Regions from separate parts of the Homo sapiens genome. Here all the other regions are linked to region 1. Evidence: promoter capture Hi-C in human tissues and cell types (Jung and others, 2019). All regions are on one chromosome and are shown on one strand. Each heading gives the region's core, a stretch centred on a gene start or on the middle of the fragment in contact. The rest is flanking DNA. Distances are from core to core; before and after follow the strand shown.

Region 1 (2,891 bases), core at 195-2,694:
AATACCAGTACAATCAAAGCTTTAAAATAAAATGAATTTATTCTCATCAGGTCCTTCTAAATATGAAAGAGTACAGAAATAATTACAAATATATACGACATGATTCTAAGTTTTAACTGTATACTATATTAGGCCTACAAATATCACAACCACAGTATTAAATTATGCTTGGTTACATCTTAGTTCTATTCAGTAATGAAAGGAAACTTAATTTGTCTACACTACACACATGATGTAAAGCTTTAAAAATAACTTTATAATATTCCAAAATATAGCTTGTATTAGTTTTATAGCATGGAATCATTCTTCCTATATTGTCAAATTGCTGTTGGCCAGTTAAATAAGTAAAATAATAAATTGTATCTCTTACTCTTTTTCACCAGGTGGCTTATCTCTTATTCCCTGTCATTATGATTTTCTTAGAAGGCTGAAGCTTTCAAATTATCTCACTTTGTCATCAAGACTTTTCTCAGACATCGTTGAAAATATTTGTCCATATTTTCCTGTCTTTTTATCAAAGGAGTTTAGCGTTCACTTTCATTGCCAGTACTAGATAATTTTCAGAGTTCAACGTCTATGAGTTAACTCATCCTTCCTATTGCCCTCCTTAGTTTGTTAAGGTTCTCACTTCCTGTTTCTTAACACTGATAATCAGAACTTCCTCAGTGCCCCCTAATTTTCTTAATGAAAAGGAAGAAACAAACACAAGCTCCTTTCACCAACGCCTCTCAGCCATGGCAGAGAGTATAGCTCTGCTGCTCTGCCATGTGTTTTACAAGCAGCATCCCAAATGTTTTGGACACAAACCGCAGCACGTCTGCGATGGGAGTATTATTGACCAGGATCAGCTGGAAAACGCTTCCCTGCTTTCAACAAAGAAACGGTTCACCATGTCCTAATACATGTTTATAAATTGCATTGTTTCTACTGCAAACTCCTTTGCATTACCCGTCCGACTTCAAAAGAGAGCATTAAGCAGTTGGACACGGAATAAGCTAAATTCCCCGGAGAGCCGCATTGCCCGCTGCCCATGCACATTATATTTTCTCCTAGTCCCTCCCCCCGCGCAGTAGGACTCTACCTTGAGGAGCTATTCCTCCGGTAGTTCACCTTGTTATGTTCCAAGCAGTGGGGATACGCCAGACACCATAAGGTAGCTGAAAGAGCTGTCTCTCGTCCCGTTTTTGACATATTTATTTGCATTTCTGTTAGGTTTGTTACATATTGCACATTTATTTCAAACAAGACTCAAAATATTGTTCATACCTTGGAAGGATCTAATCCGGCAAACAAAGACAGCAGCAGGAGGTTGAGAAGGTTGGACGTCGCCTGCATTCTGATCTGGGTTTTTGCCCCTCTTTACTCTCTTTTATGTAGGCTCTCCACTCACTGCAGAGACCTTTCCCTCGTCAGTTGCACTTTCTGCCTGCCAGTCAGAGCCGAGTGGAAGCAGAGGCGGCGGCAGCAGCAGTAGCAATAACAGCAGCAGCGGCAGCGGCGGCAGCCGCCCTGGGGGGCGATCATTCCGCAGGCATTCTCAGAGCTAGGAGTCCGGGAGCTCTAGAGAGTGGGTTGGGCTGCAGTGGGCGCTGGCCGCGGTGCTGAAGCGCCTCCAACCCGCGCGCCCCAGTTTACCCTCTCCCCCGCTGCTATATAGCTAGCCCACCTCAAAAGTTTTGACCCAAGGAATAGATAAAGGGATTAACTGCTGAGAGAGGTGTGGAGACCTGGACAACGGATATGACATCACTACAGCTCCTGGGGGTTTCGGGGGGATATTTTGCGGGGAATTTGTTAACCAAACAAGGATTGACTCTCGTGCTCCAGTTCAGCATTTGCCGGCAACTTGAGCTGCAGAGAAGTAAAGAGTCAGCTAAATACAGGATTATGAAACAAATAGTGCACTAGAACCTTCTGCTGTCATTGACAGAGGACTTGATATTGTATTTAGTGCTTTAAACAAAGTTTGCAGTGCAGACTATCAGTGTGTGTCATCCAAGGCACACGATTTTCAGCTGTTATTGATAGATGAATGTGGTAATTTATAGATATGTGCAGTCATTTATGAATAGCTTATTAAAGTTATATGTTTTGGTTAGGTATTAATGTGTATCTATCTATCTAGGGATTTGGTCATCTAAAAACACTATGCATAAATAAATAAAGAGGCTTATATTCTTCTTTTAGTTATAAATGGTATATTCCATTAGTGATCCCCCCAGCTGAAATATCCCCCCCATATGCACAGCCATACCTGGAAATATAGTTTTTCTATCAGTCTGACTTGTGTTTTTACTTGAAGAAGAATTCACTGATAGATGGATAGCGGGATGGGAAGAGTGTTTATTTCTAAGCTTTCAAACACTTCTGTAATCTAGGGCTCAAGAAAAGGCAGAATAGCTGCCTCACAAGAGCAAAGAAAGGGTAAATGGCAAACTCTCTTACCCTGCATCATTCAACCTTACTGGAGCAATTTCATTTCTTTGAATATGGAAAAAGTGTTCTCAATAATATAAAAAGGAAGAAGTTGGTAGCCACCCTGAAACATCCCTCTCGTACAATTATGCCTGTAATATTTCCATCTTCTATTGATTTTTCTAGAAATTATAATTCCTAAGGGTTAAAATATATAGATAGACTGGGTCTGTGGACATTGCTTCCTTTTACTTCGACATTTAAAAGACAATGAATTGAGATATCAGACACATACCGAGTATGAAATCTCCATCAACCTTTCACTGAAAATATATCCTATTTTTTAATATAAGAAATCTCAATTAGGACTCAAATGCATTTGAAAGTTATTGTCCCCAAGAATTTACATCATATTGCATCTGTTTTAATCCTAATATTATAAATGTGTGTATAGTTACTTGAGGTCTTTATTTTCT
Region 2 (2,891 bases), core at 233-2,732, 180 kb before region 1:
TCCAGTCAGTCTTACCGTAGAAAGCAAACTTTTAGGTGGTTAAAAGAACAGCTTTTGTATGTGACCTATGTGCTTCATTCATTTATTTATTCATTCACCCAGCTAAGGTTTTTTTTTTTTTTTAGCAGAAAGCACTGTTCCAGATACTAGAGTTAACAATAATGAGAAAGCATGACACCTCTGTTCTGGTGAAGCTTACATTTTGGTGAGAAGACAGAAAGAATAAATTAAAAAACAAATAAACAAACAAACTAAACATATCATACAGAAATAAATTTAATGCCAAGATTTAAGTAGGGCAATTTTATAAAGAGTGACTGGGGAGCTACTTGATATTGGGAGGGTAAGGAAGACCTCTCAGTGTGTGACATTTAATTTGAGATCTTATTGACAAGAGAAGGACATTTAGGCATTTAGTTTATTTACTGGAGCAGTTGTTTAGTGGATTTAGCCATTTAGAGAATAGCTAGGGGAAGGCAGCATCTTAAAGTGGTTGGGGACATGGGTTAAAGAGTCGGCCTGGATTTGAATCCTGATTTTATCCCTTATTCGCTGGAGACCTTGAACAATTTTCTAACCTCTCAGTGTTTCATGGGTAACAATAGAAATAATATCGTATCAAAGTGTTATTGAGAAGATTAAATAAAAAATATGGCTACATGTTTAAAATAGTGCTTGGTACATAGTTAAGTACTTAAGAAATAATAGCTATTATTATTGTTATTGCAAAGGCCTTAATACGCTTGATGAATTAAGAGGAGCAAATAAACAGAAAGAAGATCAATGTATTTAGAATACACTTGGAACAGAAGAAGACGAGATTGGAGAGATGAGTAGTCCAGTAGTCCACATTGTTTGTAAACTTTGTGAAGACAAGATTTGGATTTTATTCTACGAATGATCGAAAGTCATTGGATTATTTTAAAGGGGGAGGGGAATGACAGAATGTAAGCTGCACCTTAGAAAGATCTCTCTAGCTACTGTATAGAATATTAATTGTAGAGTGGATAGAGTGTAAACAGTCTCATTAAAAGGTTATCAGTTTTGGGAGGCTGAGGTGGGCGGATCACAAGGTCAGGAGATCGAGACCATCCTGGCTAACACGGTGAAACCCCGTCTTTATTAAAAATACAAAAAAAATAGCCGGGCGTAGTGGCGGGCACCTGTAGTCCCAGCTACTCAGGAAACTAAGGCAGGACAATGGCATGAACCCGGGAGGTGGAACTTGCAGTGAGCCGAGATCGCGCCACTGCATTCCAGCCTGGGTGACAGAACAAGACTCCGTCTCAAAAAAAGAAAAAAAAAAAAAAAGGTTATCAGGCTGATTTAGGTGAAAGATGATGGAAGCAGTTGTGGAGATGGAGAAAAGTAGATGGACTTGGGGTATGTTTTTAGAATAAAGTGGATAGGACTAGGCTTTGGATTAGATGTGAGGAAAGGGAATTTAAAAACTCAAAAAAAAATAATCAAAGATAACATCTAGATTTTTGGCTTGTCCAGCTAGACAGATTGTAGTGTCATTTACTCGGATGAAATGACTGAGGGAGGAATGGGTTTGGGAGCAAAAATAAAGAATCCAACAGGGATAATTCTAAGTTGTTCATGACTATTACACGTATCAGTAGAAACAGCATATAAATCTAGGGAACAGATACTCCTTTGAGTTTTGACAAAACAGTTTTGATGGTTTTTAGCATAATGATGACAGTGAAAGCCAGGGGCTACATATTGCCTCAGAGGGAAGGCATACACAGAAAAGAGAAAGGTATCTAGCACAGAACTCTGTAAATCACAATATTTATAAGACTCATCAAAGAAGCCCAAGAATAAGCTATAAGTTGGATAGAAAAAATAACGTGGTATTAAGAAATCCAAAAGAAGAAAGTGTTTTAAGAAGGATATAGTACTGACCTGTGAAAAACACCACTAAGATGTCTAGCAGCATAAGATCAAAGAAATAACCATAAAATTTGGCAGCAAGAGTCACTGCTGATTACAAAACTCAGAAAAAGTGTGGTGATCCCAGAAAATGAATCGAAGTTGGTTTGAAAAGAACGTAACCAAAGTAGCAGCTATAAAAGATTCTTTCAAGGGAAAAGAAGCAGGGAGACAGGAGTAGGAAAATATGAGATTACAGGAAGTTTTTATTGTTGTGCTGATGATGGTTAAGAAAGGTTTGTTTATAAAAATAATCTAGTAGGGAGCAATACGCTGATGTTGTGAAAGACAATAATTAAATAAATGAATCCCATGAGCAGATGGTAGTTTAATCTGTTTAGTAACCATGAGTAATCATGTGCCTATCTTTCCTTTTATAATTTTTGTGTGTGAGTGTCTGTCTGTTTTTACTCCCATCAATTTCACAGGAAATGTTCTTAGAGTGGTATATTCCATCCAGGTTTGAACACTGAGGCATGAGTTAGGAAGCCTGGTTTCAAATCTAGGCCACAGCATTCAATCATTGTATGAAGTTGGACAATGCCTTATTCTCTGGAGTGGAATTTCCTCATCTATAAAATGAAAATTCTGAAGCTTGACATTTTTTCATTTTAACTAAGGGAACATTGAATAGATAGTGGATCAATAGCATGTATATGCTGGTGGACAGAAGGTGGTATTTGTGGTTGTGGTCAAATAAACACCATCAGCGTTATGTTTATGATCACCATCATCTACCCTTATTCTCAGGAAGCAAAAAGCTGACAGAGCTCTCGATGTTGATTTCTTCTTAGTAGATGCTTCCCTTACAAATGGTTATTGATTTCCTAAGCTAGAATTCATCTTGCCAAATGAAATTAACAAAATTAAAGTTACAGGAATGTATAAAACTGGCAGTGTCTTTGTTTATAATTTTGTGTACCTTAGTGTTAAGTAACATAGGTATCTCCAGA
Region 3 (2,891 bases), core at 207-2,706, 150 kb before region 1:
TGTCAGAATCAAGGTGCAAAGTTTGAAATATAACTCATTCATTAGTACCTCAGTTTACATTCATTATCCTGCAAGAGTTAATTCAACAATGATGTTGTTGAAATCTGGTACTTGGACATTGAAAAAAAAATTGGCTCAGTAAATATTAGATAATATAAGTTTATGTTTTGTAATTGTTTATTGATGTCTATCTCTTGCTTTCTTTATAACTCCAAATCTCTTTTACATCCTTCCTGCCAGGCCACTTCATGCAGGTAGGGAAGAGGATCTCAGCAATGGAGGCTCTGGGGTTCCATAAGTAACCTAAGGGAAATGAAAATGTAAAAGCAGGTCAAAGTGTGGCTTGTATGTGCTCTGCTGGTGCCTTAAGCACTGGGAGAATCTGGAAAATTATTTAACTTTTTGGTCAGACTATACTCAGTTGATTAACATTGGTTGATAGATTATTATTAGTAACAGCAAATAACACTTGGAAATGGAGGGCTACTTTTCTTTCCATATCTGACTTTTTCTGATCCACTGGAGTAACCCACATGAAAGTGAAAACCCCTAGTTTTGCTTCTGTACCTTTTATTTCAGGGCAGAGGAATTATTTTCTAAGAAATTCCTTTTATTTGAATTTGTAAATTTCTATTTCAAAAAACAATAGTTTTCATTTTTCTTTGAAATATCAAACATGTTGCTCACTGAACCTTGCTTCAAACTATCAGGAAATACTTTGTTAGAAAGTAGGGAGGATTAAAAAGCCATTAATTTTAGATGAATGAAGATTATACAAGACAGTCTTGTGATAGGAAGTCTTCATAAAATATTAAAAATACAGGAAGATGTTTTTATCAAGTAAGTTTTCTATTGCTCATGTTTCTTAGCTTTCTTAAAGGAATTTTGGGCAGGCCTTAAATTGGCGAGTTTTTTCATTCATTTATGCTTAAAAGATGTTAGTTTCTTTGAGTGAATTCATTGCAAATAGTCACAGGCATTGCATTCCAAGGAAGAATCTGCTGTAGCAGAACTAGATTTGACAGAATATACTTTGTAGCTTACTTTGTGGGAAAAATTATGAAGATTTTTACAGATATTAAAATAAGTAAAAGAATAAGAAACAAAACATATATATATATATATTTTTAAGAATTGCCCAAGCTTCCAAGTAATATAGTTAAAGCTTTTCACCCTTAAGAATTTAATGACTCTGGTATTCTCTTTCATAGCTCATTTCTCAAGCAGTCCATTTTTGGGGTATAACTATAAAGTGTTTATAAATAAATATGATGAAAGTTACCACATAGTTACTACATTTTTGAAGCTGACCTGTAAAGGCAGAAGCAAAATCTTAGCCTTTGCAATTTACAAAACAAAGCCCACTAAATGCACTTACTTCTCAAGATGGCCAAACCCACCGCAGTAACTTACTAAGGTATCCGGAGTCGACAGCCTCGTGGTGTTCAGTCCCACCAAGGATGGGAGAGTTTGGGACATCCAGTTTGAGATCATTGCCATGGTACTAAGCACAGCGCCAAGCTTCAGCAGTGGAGGACTCATTGCTGTGGAGCTAATGAGTTTTCATAGTGACTGATTAAGATCCCGGTGCCGGGCTGGCAGCGGGAGGCGTGACTGCAGCGCGCCACATCTACAGCATGAAAAGAGATCAACTTCCCCAGCTCTAATCACCCAGGAAAGCTTCGGAACCTCCTTCCCCCATCCTCGTGGGAAGTGCCCTGCCCTTCTTTTTCCTCCCTTACCAGACATTTTGCTGGATCATCAAACAAAATATTCTTGATAGGCTTGGTTGGTAATTATCAGAGAGCAGAGGTTGGAGGGAGGCGGAAACTTGAGCTTTCCCAGCTCCACTTTAGTTAGTTACCATCAACAGAATCCATTTCCTCTGGGGTTTGTGTAAGTATAATCAGCTACTCTTTATCTTTCATTAAAAAAAAAAAATACACCTTTAAATGGAGGTCTGCCAAAGTGCACATTTCAAACACCAAACTTAATATCTACAGATTTCTCTGGGCAAGGACAGAGTGCTTTTAGGAAGAACATGAAAATAAAGTCTGCAAATAATTTTCCAGATGATCATATTGAGAGTAGGAGATAATTTTTTTTTTTAGAAAGTAACCTAAAATTAGCATCATTGCTTTAAAAATATAGTCAAAGATTAATAGCTACTGCTTGTGGCAAACATTACCTTTAGGCATCTTACACCTGAACAGACAGAAAAGAGAAAAGACAGCCTTGCAGAAAAACTTCTGTTACAGAAATTTTATATGTGTTTCCAGTTTTGCTTTTGAGAATGAAGGCTTTGCTTCGTAGGTGTTCAGTCACACAGGAAACTCAGTTAACTCTATTTTCAGTTTGTGAGGAATGACGGACTGATATGGAAAGTCTGTATCTTGAGAGAACATGTGATTTAGTATAAAGGGCACAGGACTTGGACTCAGGAAGTCTGGGATCTAGTATTTGTTCTCCTCTAGTTAGCCATATGACTGGCCGGTGACAAGATTCCTTGGCTTCAGTTTTTTCTACAATATAAGGATGTTGGAAAATATGCTCTCCAAGGTCCCTTCCAGCTCTCAAATTCAATGATCTGTTTATTAGATTACATTAGCAAGTGTGGTATATAGAATCCAGGGTTTATGGGTAACTTTATTATATTGTTTTCATAAATACTATAAATTTTCCACATCCAAATCTCAGGTTCCAAATGAAAGAAATCAGAGGTCTTTGTCTTATCCAATATATGTGTTTTAAAGTAAAAATATAAAGAGAAGACACAAAACAAAATATGGATGAATGAAAATTAAATGAAAAGAAATTGGTTACAAAAAGGAAAAGTATTGTTTTGATTTCTTAGGAGAATTCTGGACTTGTTTGTATTTGGAATCTTCAGC

Evidence for each region. The method cuts DNA at HindIII sites, captures the fragments that hold promoters and counts their contacts. A contact is called where the count stands out against the background at its distance.
Region 2: a fragment that was not itself captured here is called in contact with the fragment with the promoter of OLFM3 in region 1 in 3 of the 25 tissues and cell types used here (H1 embryonic stem cells, hippocampus and mesenchymal stem cells).
Region 3: a contact is called between a fragment that was not itself captured here and the fragment with the promoter of OLFM3 in region 1, in 5 of the 25 tissues and cell types used here (H1 embryonic stem cells, dorsolateral prefrontal cortex, heart left ventricle and 2 more).

The regions. Positions count from the first base shown.
Region 1 is chr1:101,995,482-101,998,372 of GRCh38, forward strand. It overlaps OLFM3 (olfactomedin 3), which reads right to left and starts at 1,445. Exons shown (of 6, transcript NM_058170.4): 1 at 1,267-1,445. The coding sequence starts at 1,335. The HindIII fragment of the contact is 3,886 bases long and covers 1-2,891 here.
Region 2 is chr1:101,814,159-101,817,049 of GRCh38, forward strand. The region is part of intron 4 of OLFM3 (olfactomedin 3); the gene reads right to left. Among named protein-coding and RNA genes, the nearest start is that of LINC01709, 180 kb to the left of the region's middle. The HindIII fragment of the contact is 4,181 bases long and covers 1-2,891 here.
Region 3 is chr1:101,845,432-101,848,322 of GRCh38, forward strand. All of the region lies in intron 1 of OLFM3 (olfactomedin 3), which reads right to left. Among named protein-coding and RNA genes, the nearest start is that of OLFM3, 150 kb to the right of the region's middle. RefSeq lists an enhancer at 1,341-1,845. The HindIII fragment of the contact is 4,101 bases long and covers 1-2,891 here.